Linked DNA regions of Homo sapiens: all the other regions are linked to region 2. The links are contacts of gene promoters, found by promoter capture Hi-C in human tissues and cell types (Jung and others, 2019). All regions are on one chromosome and are shown on one strand. The core of a region is centred on a gene start or on the middle of the fragment in contact, and the rest is flanking DNA. Distances in the headings are between cores, read along the strand shown.

Region 1 (2,970 bases), core at 152-2,651, 590 kb after region 2:
CTCCTACAGGGACAACCAACAATAATACTTGGGAAGATTGTAAGATTCAGCAAATTACCTTGTACCTTGAGGTACAGGAGGCAAAAGTGTTTGAATCTTCCATGACACTTCTAACCAACAGTGTGATTGTGTGGAGCAGTATAGTGAGGAAAAAAACAACCCTGAGACCTCATAGAAATCAGTGGGAAAGTCTTCTGTGATTCACATCATCTGTCATGTGCCTGATGGGGATGGGGAATGGTAAGAATCTGTGCCATAAATTTGCAGACTCTATTCTAGGTAAGAGCAGTAATATTTAAATTGCATAATGTATCAGAAATAACATCTTAAAACCTTATAGACTTGACTTTACCAAATACTGGGATTTAAATATAAAGAGGAGGTAGGGTTCAAATCAGCTGGGTATCCTAACCAACCTGACAGGATTCTTCATTACACTGCATAATACAAACAGAATTAACCCCTCTCCCAGGAAGGCAGTAACTTGTTGGGAGTCAGAAAATAACAGATTTCTTCCATCTCTAAGTCTTTTTATTTTTAAGAAGTTATTTTATGAATCCCATAAAACTCTAGATCACCATACTACAACTTTAATCAATGTAGAGTGATATTCTAACTTCTGTCTCCTCCACTCACAGGATTTTTAAATCCCTCAAAAATTACTGGACAATGTCACATTTAGCAAAATGATTAAAGTGAAAAAATAATGAACCAAGTATTGGCAAGAATATGGAGAAGTTGGAAATCTTCCACACTTTTGGGAATGTATATTGGTACAACTACTTAGGAAAAGTGTTGAGCATTGTAATGGAGCATGTTACTATCCAGCAAGTTCACGCTTAGGTATATATACAACAGGAATGTTTATGTATATATCTTGTGCACTTCTGTTGGTGAATATATATATATGTTCACCAAACTATATATATACTCATTTTCCTCATGTATATATGTTCATCTTATCTATACATATGTTCATCGCCCTCATATATATATATATATGTTCACCAAACGTGGACAAGATATAAATATGTGCGTATAAACTTGGTACAAAAGTAATTGCTGTTTTTAATGGCAAAAACAGCAATTACTTTTGTACCAACCTCATACATACATACAAATACATATATTTGTGTACACACACTAATGTGTATATATAAGCATTTCTGTTGTATATATACCTATGAATACATATATATTCTTTTCACCAGAAGTGGACAAGAATGTTAATAAGTAGCATCATTGTAATAGCCCTAAAACTTCACAAGAAGAAATATACAAAAATGTTCATATCAACGTTATTTGTAATACCCCAAACTGTAAAAATCCACATGTCCACCAACAGTAGAATGGATATTTGTGATACATTTAAGCAATGGAATATTATACAACAATGAGAACGAACAAACTACAACTACACACTGGATGAATGTCATAAATATAATGTTGAATGACTGAACCCAGACCTCCCCCAAATCACATATGATAATTATTCAATTTAAGGTAATTTTCAAAATCAGGCAAAACAAATATATAGCCTTGGAAGTGGTAATAGTGATTACCTTGAATGAGAGTGGTTTCTAAGGGGTTTCTAGGGTGCTGAAATTATCCTGTTTCTTGATCTGTGTGCTAGGTACATGTTTATTTTGGGAAAATTCATCAAGCTATACCACCATACTGTACCAAGCAAGGTTAGTGCCTACTGAAATTACCACCAGGACAGGGCTATCTAAAGACACATTTGGTAGTGTGTTAACTATATAAAAAAAGACACTGTACAGTTTAAAAACAAATCTTACACAAACTTACATTTCAATTTTTTTGTTTGAAAGGAGTGAATTGTGTACAGGGAGGTTAAATTCTTTATAGACAAGAAAAAAATGTGCTAACATTAACTTATTCATCAACATCTTCTTCATCATCTTCTTGTCCTCTTCTTTCTTCTCTTTCTTGCTTTTTTCAGCCTTGACAACTCCCTTTTTGCTGCATCTGGCTTTCCTTTAGCTCAGTATGCAGCAGTATCTTTTTCACATTTTTCCTTGAGCTTCGCAGCGTTCTTTGTATAAGGCTGCTAGTCATCTGCAGCAGTGCCATTCCACATCTCTCCCAGCATCTTTGCAACATCACCAATGTTTAGGCCAGGATGTTCTTTGATTTTTGGGTGATACTCAGAACAGAACAAGAAAAAAGGCTGAAGAAGGCCTCTTGAGTGTATTGGGATCCTTGAACTTCTTTTTTGTCTCCCCTTTAGGAGGGATATAAGTTTTCATTTCTCTTTCATAATGGGCTTTACCTACCTTTGTCATGTCTTCCAATTTTCCTTTTGCTTTAGCAGAAGTAGTCTTTCACCTCTCAGCACTTCTCAGAAAACTCTGAGGAGCTGACTGAGGCATCTGGGTGCTCCTTCTTGTGCTCCTCCTGACAAGATGGCACAAAGAACACATATGATGACATTTTGCCTCTTGGTTTCTTAGGATCTACTTTACCCATGTTTAGTTATCTTTCTTCAACAAGGCACAGAGTTGCCCAGTGCCCATCTGGCTCTCACTTGCCCCAGCACTCTCTCTATGGAGCTCAGTGTACTGCAATCAATTGAATATTTTTACCATAGAAATCTGTTCATGTGTAATTACATATGTTTGTATTTATGTTTAATAAAATGAAATTGGCATCTCTCCCCTCTAAAAAACCAATTAGTAATTTTTTTTGCATCCAAAGAATATTTGCTATGTATGTAAAAACACTTGGAGGGTGATGAAGTTAGTATTATGAATTCAATACAATGTAGTTAGTGATTTCATAGAACTGTAGGAGAAGACATTTAATAAAAATTCAAGTAATTAATGGGTCTAAGTTTTGTTGCCTCCTCCTATCACTGCTACTAATTCCTCCCAAATAGTCATCAAAGGTAGTGACCTAGTATAGTGGCATCTGTTGGTTTTGCCTGCCCAACACCCAGTAGCCCCTTTT
Region 2 (3,101 bases), core at 1-2,500:
AGAATTACTCCACAGCGAAGGCCAAATGACTTAAACAGAATTTCAATATATCCTTTCCTGAAAGGGATTACATCATTTCCTTTTACTTCCTCCTCTACGGTTATTTCTAAACAGGTTTCTCTACACAACCACAGAGTTCTGGGAACAAGATTCTGGTTTTCTTTACATTTAAAAATTCCCTTTCTGGTCAGTCTGAAGTTTTCCGTCTTCGTGAAAACCAAAGGTGGTATCTTCATGGAGTAACGTTTTAATTAGTTACATTTTAAAAAATGATGTTGGTGAACATAGTAAATGTATCTTTCCCGGAGGGCAGGGTCTTGCTGTCAGTGCTGAACACAAATCCTTGGAAAGAATTCGGCCTGGGCTATGCAATTTCGTATCAGTAGCCAGAGGGGCCTCCAGCGACCCAGAACCTCCCAGCACCTGCATACTTTCCTATATATGGTCATCTGCAATCAAGTATCCAAATCTTCCACCTGGTGACTCAAATACCAAGGGAATGATTCATATCTAGTCAATAGGATTCTGTTGCAAAGAAAACGGTTAGTCTTTTCAGGAAAAAGCAAACTTCTTGAACTTCCAACCCTCAATATGCAAATCCACTGTTTTCTACCTTCTAAAAAAAATAAGTAAAATAAAATAAATTGCCTATGTGAGGGGGAGAAGATGCTCACAGGATGGGTGCGATTCCAAGTCCACAGAGCAGACCTCTGAGCCAGCCCCGTCTGCCATGCCGGGGACCCGAGGAACCTTCCGACTCCCAGCTTTTTTCTGTCCCCTAGACCTTTAGGACTGGGGAGGCCGAGATGGCTAAGTGGATCCCTTACGCTGCTAGCTGTAATAAGCGAAGCTTTCAGGGAGCGAGGACAGCTGAGTATCAGCTTGGGCCCCACCAAGACCTGGGTGACCCACCCATGGCACGGCACTTTCCCCCCCGTGGGCCCAGTCTCCTCGACTCTGAAATGCAGGACTGAGGTCCCTCCAGCTCCCCACCCACGCAGCTGGGTTGGGGCCGGGCGCGGGCGCCAGCCGCCAGCCCTGCCCAGGGTCGAGCTGCACTCGCGGGGGAACTGGGCGAGGCGCCGCGACCTCCCCAAGCCACCCGTCAGCAGGCGGCTGTGGGCGAGGCTCGCGGGGACGCGCCGGGAGGCTGAACTTACCCAAAGCGCGGTGGGGGAAACTGGTGTGCGAGTAAACTGCGAACAAACTGCGAGCGAAGGTGTCAGCCGCGGGCGCAGGTGCTCCGCGCTGGCTCCGGGTCCGGATCGCGACCGCACCCCTTCCTCCTGCCCCTCCTCCGGCCTCTCGACTCCACCTGATTGCGGCCCCAGGCCCCGGGAAAGGGAAGCCGCGCCCTGCTGCCGCCGGGCTCTATCCCTGTACACAGGCGCCCCAGCTCTGCTCCCTCACCGGTCTCTAAGCTTCCCCACCCTTTTCTCCCTACGCCCTCATTTCGCTCTCGGTTTCCACTACACCTTTACTTTCTCAAATGTACTGCAATGCTTATTTTGTTCTAGGCAGTGTGGATTCGGAGATTAGACTGTCCCTATACCTAAGGAACTCACTGCGTGGCATAGGTGGCGGACACCTAACATTAATAACATTGATCTGGCATTTACTTTGTACCAGGCACTGTTCTAACTTCTTTAAGAATATGCGCGGATTTATTAGGTTGGTGCAAAAGTAATTGCGGTTTTTGCCATTAAAATGGCTCCGACAACAACTCTATGAGGTAGATACTATTATCCCCATTTTATAGATGAGGAAATTGAGATACAGAGACGTTGGGTAACTTCAGCCAATTTACACAGAAGGTAAATGCCAGAGCTAGTGTTTGGAACCCAACTATTTCAGTAATTCCTCTACTAAACGTGTTGACCCTCTGGTATGAGGATTCCAACCAAAGGCTCAGGGAGACGGTAACCTGGAAGGGCATTCTAGGCATTTGGAAGAGCAAAACAAATCATCGAGGCTAAAAGGTTAAAGCCCTACTCGTATGAGGGAATTATGAGCAGTTGTGTGCTGAAGGATGTAGAAAAAGTTACCATGTATTGAGTATCAGGCATTGAAGTGCTTGAATACCTTACCTCTTTTATCTTCAAGGGAACTCTAGGAGGTGCTATTTTTATCACAATTTGCAGAAGAGAAAACTGAGGCTTAGAAAAGTGAAGTGATTTATCCGAGACCACGTAAGTAAAAAGTATTGCTTGCACTCAGTCATCACTGGGCCCCTTATGTATTCACCCGAAGGATTTGAAAACTTACCTCCACAAACACCTGCACATGGATGTTTATAGTAGCTTTACTCCTAAGTATCAAAAGTCGGAAGCAACCAAGATGTAATTCGTAGGTGAATGGATAAATAAACTGTGATACATCTATACAATAGAATTTTATTCAGCACTGAAAAGAAATTAGCTATCAAGCTATAAAAACACATGGAAGAAACTTAAATGCATATTATTAAGAGAAAGAAGCCCATTTGAAAATGCTACACACTATGATTCCAACTATATGACATTCCAGAAAAGGCAACACTACGGAGACAGTAAAAAAAATCACTGGTTTCTAGGAGTTGAGAGGAGGTAGGGTGAACAGGTGGAGCACAGAGGATTTTTAGAGGATAAGCATGGCTGGAGCTGCTTGAGTGTGAGTTGAAGAGATTACAGTCTTGGTCCTTAAGGCTGAGTCCTGGGACCTAGAAACTCATTAGAAATGCAAATTCCCTGAAACCCTGCGCCATCAAGTGATTCTGATGCATCCTAAAGTTTGAGAACCACTGGTTTAAGAGGAGCTACAACGGAGAAGGCAGAAGTGGTCATGCTTAAAAGGCCAGTGCCCTGGGAGCCCTCTCAGATCTACAAATCCGAAGTGATGGGCTTTCTGCAAGAGAGAAGATAGGATGGTGTTCTGCATTCTGTTCTGCATAGTAATTCCTGACTCCCATTCAGACTTCACCACAATAAACTGTTAAATCCCATGTTACCTCAAAAAATTCTGAGATTAGCATGAAATGGGGGAAAATATTTATTATTATTTGTGCCAGACACTGGGTAATGCACTTGACGTACGTGATCTATGTCATGCTTACCAACTAGCTG
Region 3 (3,023 bases), core at 418-2,917, 610 kb after region 2:
TTAAATATTAAGACCCTAGGAAAAGAATTGCATTCCTGGGGGGAGGTCTATAAACGGCCGCTCTGGGAGTGTCTGTCTTACGCGGTTGAGATAAGGACTGAAATACGCCCTGGTCTCCTGCAGCACCCTCAGTCTTATTAGGGTGGGGGAAAAAACCCCACCCTGGTGAATTTGAGGTCAGACTAGTTCTCTGCTCTCGAAACCTGTTTTATGTTGTTTAAGATGTTTATCAAGACAATACGTGCACAGCTGAACATGGACCCTTATCAGGAGTTTTTGATTTTCCCCTTTGCCTTGTGATCTTTGCTTTGCCCTTTGCCTTGTGATCTTTATTGGCCTCAGAAGCATGTGATCTTTGTTCTCCTTTTTGCCCTTTGAAGCATGTGATCTTTGTGACCTACTCCCTGTTCGTACACCCCCTCCCCTTTTGAAGTCCTCAATAAAAACCTGCTGGTTTTGTGGCTCAGGTGGGCATCACGGTCCTAGCGATATGTGATATCACCCCCAGAGACCCAGCTGTAAAATTCCTCTCTTTATACTCTTTATTTCTCAGCCGGCCGACACTTATGGAAAATAGAAAGAACTTACGATGAAATATTGGGGGCAGGTTCCCCCGATAAAGGATTACAATGTGAATAAAGGATTTTTACAATCTTACAGAAGACAGAACTTAAAAAAAAAAAGCAAAGTACACATACATGATTTTTAAACAATCACATGTTCCTTCTAAAGTGGCAGCTTCTATTAACTATAACTGTTCTGATAGTCTCTAGATGACTAATCACCTTTGACTGAAAACTGAAGAGAGGACTGCTGCTTTGGATAAGCACTTGTTAGACCAGTTGTCCTCCAAAATCTCTTCCAAATGTAATATTCTAAGACTATATAAAGTGTGGCCTGGCAGACAGCTTTTGAAGATGAGCCAAAACTCTTAATTTCCATGACTCCTAACAGTCTAAACCAAGAAAAGAAAGGTTATCTGTATGTCTCCTACATAACATAAAGTAGTAGTAGTAGTAATAATAATAATAATAATAATAATAATAATAATAATAATAATTGATGGTGCAGCTCTGTTTATTGGGTACTTACTTTGGGCCAAACTCTGAGTGTTCACATAGATATTCTTATTCATTTCTCCCAAGAACCTTATGAGGTAGGTGCTATTATTATCCTTTATTTACACTTATAAACTGAGACTCAGAAAACTCTGTAACTTATTCATGAGCACACACATGGTAAGGAGTGGCCAAGTAGCTACGTGTCTGAGCACTTAAGGCAGACAAACCCCACTTCCACCACCTTACTAGCTTATGACTCTGGACACAGCTATTACAAGTTCGTGATCTTTATATAAGGAAAATGAAGTATCAGTTGTCTGAGAAACACAAGTGAGCGTGTTGTATACTAAGGGGAGAAAAAGGGAAACTAAGTGAAACACTAAAAGAATATACATTTAAGATGGAAAAATAAGAATTTTTCTCTCTGCCTAATGAATCCTTTAGTGCCTTCCTAATTTTTAGATGTTAATACCATACAACTTAGCAACATTTACTTAACCCTCACTCTGTCAAGCAACACATGGAACCAGGAACAGGAAGACGAATAAGATACAAACCTCGCCCTTGAGATTACAATCTAGACACTAAAACACAACATAAGAAATACCACTTTATATGAACGAAGTGCTACAAGGGCACAGAGGAAGAAGTAATTGACACGGAAGGCTTTACTCATCACGAAAAAAGGTAGTATCTAAGCTGAGTCTTAAAGGATGGAGAATTTTGAAGGACAAAGAGGATCTTCTAGGCAGAGGGACCAGCATAAGGTAATGTGAGACAAAGGTGGATCAGGAGAGCCCACAGACCCTTTGAAGGAAGTGGATTGCTGCGACAGGCCCCAGAGACAGCTGAAAAACTGTGCTGCTATCTATGGCTGTGAGACCTGAAGACAGTTCACATCATAGTACTCTGTGCAGACATGCCCCAGTACCAGCCTGGAGCCTGGTAACTGCTGGGTGGCCAGATCCAGAAGAGAAATAACAATCACTACAGTTTGGCTCTCAGGAATCCCCATCCCTAGGGGAAGGAGGGGAGCACTACATCAGTGGAACACCTGGTGGGACAAAAGAATCTGAACAGCAGCCCTTGAGCCTCAGAACTTCCCTCTGATGTAGTCTGCCCAAATAAGAAATCAGAAAAACAATTGTGATAATATAACAAAACCAAAGTTCTTAAACATCCCCCTAAAAGATCACACTAGCTTATCAGCAATGGATCGCAATGGATCCAAACCAAGAAGAAATCCCTGAATTGCCAGGAAAAGAATTCAGAAGGTCGATTATTAAGCTAATCAAGGAGGCACCAGAGAAAGGTGAAGTCCAACTTAATGAAATAAAAAATGTGATACAAGATATGAAGGGAAAAATGTTCAGTGAACCAGATAGCATAAATAAAAAATAATCAAAACTTCCGGAAATGAAGGACACACTTAAAAGAAATGCAAAATGCACTGTAAAGTCTCAGTAATAGAATCGAACAAGCAGAATAAAGAATTTCAGAGCTTGAAGACAAGATTTTTGAATTAACTCAATCTACAGAGAAAGAAAAGAGAATCAAAATAAATAAATAAACAAAGCCTCCAAAAAGTTGGGATTATGTTAAATGACCAAAACTAAGAATAATTGGTGTTCCTGAGGAAGAAAAGAAATCTAAAAGTTTGAAAAACATATTTGAGGGAATAATCAAGGAAAACTTCCCAGCGTGGCTAGAGATCTAAATACATAGCAGCTCAAAGAACACCTGGGAAATTTATCACAAAAAGATCATTGCCTAGACACGTAGTCATCAGGTTATCCAAAGCCAAGATGAAGGAAAGGATCTTAAAAGCTGTGAGGAAAAGCACCAGGTAACCTAAAAAGGAAAACCCATCAGATTAACAGCAGATTTCTCCACAGAAACCCTACAAGCTAGAAGGGATTAGGGCCCCATCTTCAGCCTCCTTAAAAAAAAAATTATTGGCCA
Region 4 (3,223 bases), core at 211-2,710, 680 kb after region 2:
ACACTTCCAAACAATTCTAGTTGTACTATACAAGAACCTAACAACCTTGGAAGATCCCAAAATAATAATTCTCTTGGGGAAACAAACAAAAAAATCTCTTGAACATATCAATTGCAATCTGCTATTTTAAAAAATCAAGGCCAGTCACAGTGGCTCATGTCTGTAATCCCAGCACTTTGGGAGGCCAAGGCAGGAGGAACCCTTGAGCCCAGGAGCTCGAGCCCAGCCTGGGCAATAGAGTGGAACCCCATCTCTACAAAAAATTTAAAAATTAGCGACGGTGCACAGCTGTAGTCCCAGCTACTCAGGAAGCTGAGGTGGGAGGATTGCTTGAGGTGGCAGGATCACTTGAGCCAGGAAAGTTGAGGCTGCAGTGAGTTCTGATCTCACTATTCCACTCCAGACTGGGTGACAGGAACCCTGTCTCAAAAAAACAAAACAGGCTGGGTGCGGTGGCTCACACCTGTAATCCCAGCACTTTGGGAAGCTGAGGTGGGTGGATCACCTGAGGTCAGGAGTTTGAGACCAGCCTGACCAAGATGATGAAACTGTCTCTACTAAAAACGCAAAAAAAATTAGCTGAGTGTGTTGGTGCATGCCTGTAATCCCAGCTACCTGAGAGGCTGAGGCACAAGAATCGCTTGAACCTGGATGGCAGAGGTTGCAGTGAGCCGCGCCACTGCACTCCAGCCTGGGCAACAAGAGCGAAACTCTGTCTCAAAAACAAACAAACAAACAAACAAACAAACAACAAAAAGCAAGCAAGCAAGCAAAACCACTACTATCAGTCATGACAACCAGAAACTACAATTTTCAACAGAAATCAAACACTACAGACCAAAAGAAACCAAATACCACTATTTAAGTAGCACTGTTAGATCATGATATCTATGTTTTCAATCCTTTTGTAGTCAATTTGTCTAGCTGTATTATTTTATCTCCTTTATTAATACATTTCTCTTCCCCTTATTCTTAGCATATAACCTCACTTGCTACTTCAGAGAAAATAGCCCTCAGAACTTCCTGAACTACTGAGTCTCCCTGATCCAGCACTCATTCTCAAAATCTCTCCCACCCCGTGGCAATGAGATAGAAACAACTCCCTCTCCTTTCTTATCTCTTTTAATTGATAGTGAAAGGTTAGAGTTCCCTTGAGGTCAGTCCTATACTGCCTTCTCACCTGACTCTATAATCCTCACTCTCCCTAGGGAATCGTATCCATCTATTCTTGCCTTTCTGCTACAACCATCACAGTCCAGGCTACCATCACCTACCACCTGGATTACTGCCACAGCCTCTAAACTGTTCTGTCTTCTACACTTGGCCCTCTCCATTTCTTTTCCACCTATATTAGTAAGAGGGATCATTTTAAAATGAAAATTTCACCATGTCCTTAAAATACTTGGATGGCTAAACTTGGCTCTTTGAACAAAGGAAATTTTTACCAAGGTACTCCACGAGCTACTACTAAACTATCCAGTGAGCATCCTCTAGCCCCACTCTCCCTCATGTTCACCATGCTACAAATACACTCATCTTCTTTCAGTTACTTGACTCTGTTCTTTACCACCTAAGAATTTTCATAATCTTCCATCTATGACATTTTCCCCTATTGCTTTCCACTCCACTAGTTCATAGTAATACAGTTATCTTTCAAGGACTCTACTTAACATTATTTCTTCAGAAGAGTCTCCCCTGAATAGATTAGGTCTCTCATATACATTTGTATAACATCTTACACTTTTCCTTCACAGCACTTAGGACAATTTTAACTAAAGAAATAATTATCCAGGTCGGGCGTGGTGGCTCATGCCGGTAATCCCAGCACTTTGGGAGGTTGAGGAGGGTGGATCACAAGATAAGGAGTTCAAGACCAGCCTGGCCAACATGGTAAAACCCCGTCTCTACTAAAAATACAAAAAAAATTAGCCGGGTGTGGTGGCATGCTCCTGTAATCCCAGCTACTCGGGAGGCTGAGGCAGGAACTGCTTGAACCCCAGAGTCAGAGGTTGCAGTGAGCCAAGATTGAGCCACTGCACTCCAGCCTAGGCAACAGAGGAAGAGTCCATCACAGAAAAAAAAACAAAATATACACACAAAAGTTAGCTGGGCATGGTGACACGTGCCTGTAGTCCCAGCTACTCAGGAGGCTGAAGCAGGAAAATCACTTGAAGCTGGGAAGCAGAGGTTGCAGTGGGCCAAGATCGTGCCACTGCACTCCAGCCTAGGCAACAGAGTGAGACTCCATCTCAAAAGGAAAAAAAAAAGAAATAACTGGCCAGGCGCGGTGGCTCATGTCTGTAATCCCAGCACTTTGGGGGGCTGAGGTGGGCGGATCACGAGGTCAGGAGATCAAGACCATCCTGGCTAACACGGTGAAACCCCGTCTCTACTAAAAATACAAAAAATTAGCCAGGCATGGTGGCGGGCGCCTATAGTCTCAGCTACTCGGGAGGCTGAAGCAGGAGAACGGCGTGAACCCGGAAGGCAGAGCTGGCAGTGAGCCGAGATCGTGCCACTGCCCTCTAGCCTGGTCGACAGAGCAAGACTCCGTCTAAAAAAAAAAAAAAAAAAAAAAAAAAAAAGAAATAACTATCCAAGGCTGGGTGTAGTGGTTCACGCATGTAATCCCAACACTGGGAAGCCAAGGCGGGTTGATCGCTCATGCCTATAATGCCAGCACTTCAGAAGACTGAGGTGGGAGGATAATTTGAGCCCAGGAGTTCAAGACCAGCTTGGGCAACATAGTGAGACCCCGTCTCTTGAAAGAAAAGAAAAGAAAAAGAAAAAGAAAAAGAAAAGAATTATCCAATTAATTCCTGCTCCTCAATAGATGGTAAGCATCATGGGCAGGAAATGTATATAGCTTGTTCAGCATTGTATACCTAGCACCTAGCACAGTGTTTGTCAAGTGAAGACTCTAAATAAACATTTGTTGAATGAAGAAAATTTGAACAAATGAGAGCAAAAATTGGACTCAAATATTATGCATTACAGCACATGAAAGGGGCCATTTTTCTGATGATCCATTTATTCATTCATTCATTCAACAAATACGCCAATGAAACATGTGCTAGCACTGCTGGAAGCATTTAGGTACATCAGTGAATAAAACATAAAAATCCCTATCCTCATAGGGCTTATGTCTAGAGGGGGAAGACAATACCAATAAAAATAATTGGGGGATGGAGGCACTGCAGGATAAAAGGGATTGTATCAGTGG

Evidence for each region. The method cuts DNA at HindIII sites, captures the fragments that hold promoters and counts their contacts. A contact is called where the count stands out against the background at its distance.
Region 1: a fragment that was not itself captured here is called in contact with the fragment with the promoter of ANXA3 in region 2 in 1 of the 25 tissues and cell types used here (H1 embryonic stem cells).
Region 3: a fragment that was not itself captured here is called in contact with the fragment with the promoter of ANXA3 in region 2 in 1 of the 25 tissues and cell types used here (heart right ventricle).
Region 4: a fragment that was not itself captured here is called in contact with the fragment with the promoter of ANXA3 in region 2 in 1 of the 25 tissues and cell types used here (dorsolateral prefrontal cortex).

Annotation. Positions count from the first base shown.
Region 1 is chr4:77,963,460-77,966,429 of GRCh38, reverse strand. It overlaps the pseudogene HMGB1P44. Among named protein-coding and RNA genes, the nearest start is that of FRAS1, 92 kb to the left of the region's middle. The HindIII fragment of the contact is 6,061 bases long and covers 1-2,970 here.
Region 2 is chr4:78,549,919-78,553,019 of GRCh38, reverse strand. It overlaps ANXA3 (annexin A3), which reads right to left and starts at 1,250. Exons shown (of 13, transcript NM_005139.3): 1 at 1,161-1,250. RefSeq lists enhancers at 1-830, 134-885. The HindIII fragment of the contact is 13,286 bases long and covers 1,137-3,101 here.
Region 3 is chr4:77,943,166-77,946,188 of GRCh38, reverse strand. All of the region lies in intron 7 of MRPL1 (mitochondrial ribosomal protein L1), which reads right to left. All of the region lies in intron 1 of LOC102724916 (a long non-coding RNA gene), which reads left to right. Among named protein-coding and RNA genes, the nearest start is that of MRPL1, 82 kb to the right of the region's middle. The HindIII fragment of the contact is 6,374 bases long and covers 1-3,023 here.
Region 4 is chr4:77,867,109-77,870,331 of GRCh38, reverse strand. All of the region lies in intron 1 of MRPL1 (mitochondrial ribosomal protein L1), which reads right to left. Among named protein-coding and RNA genes, the nearest start is that of MRPL1, 5.9 kb to the right of the region's middle. The HindIII fragment of the contact is 3,452 bases long and covers 1-3,186 here.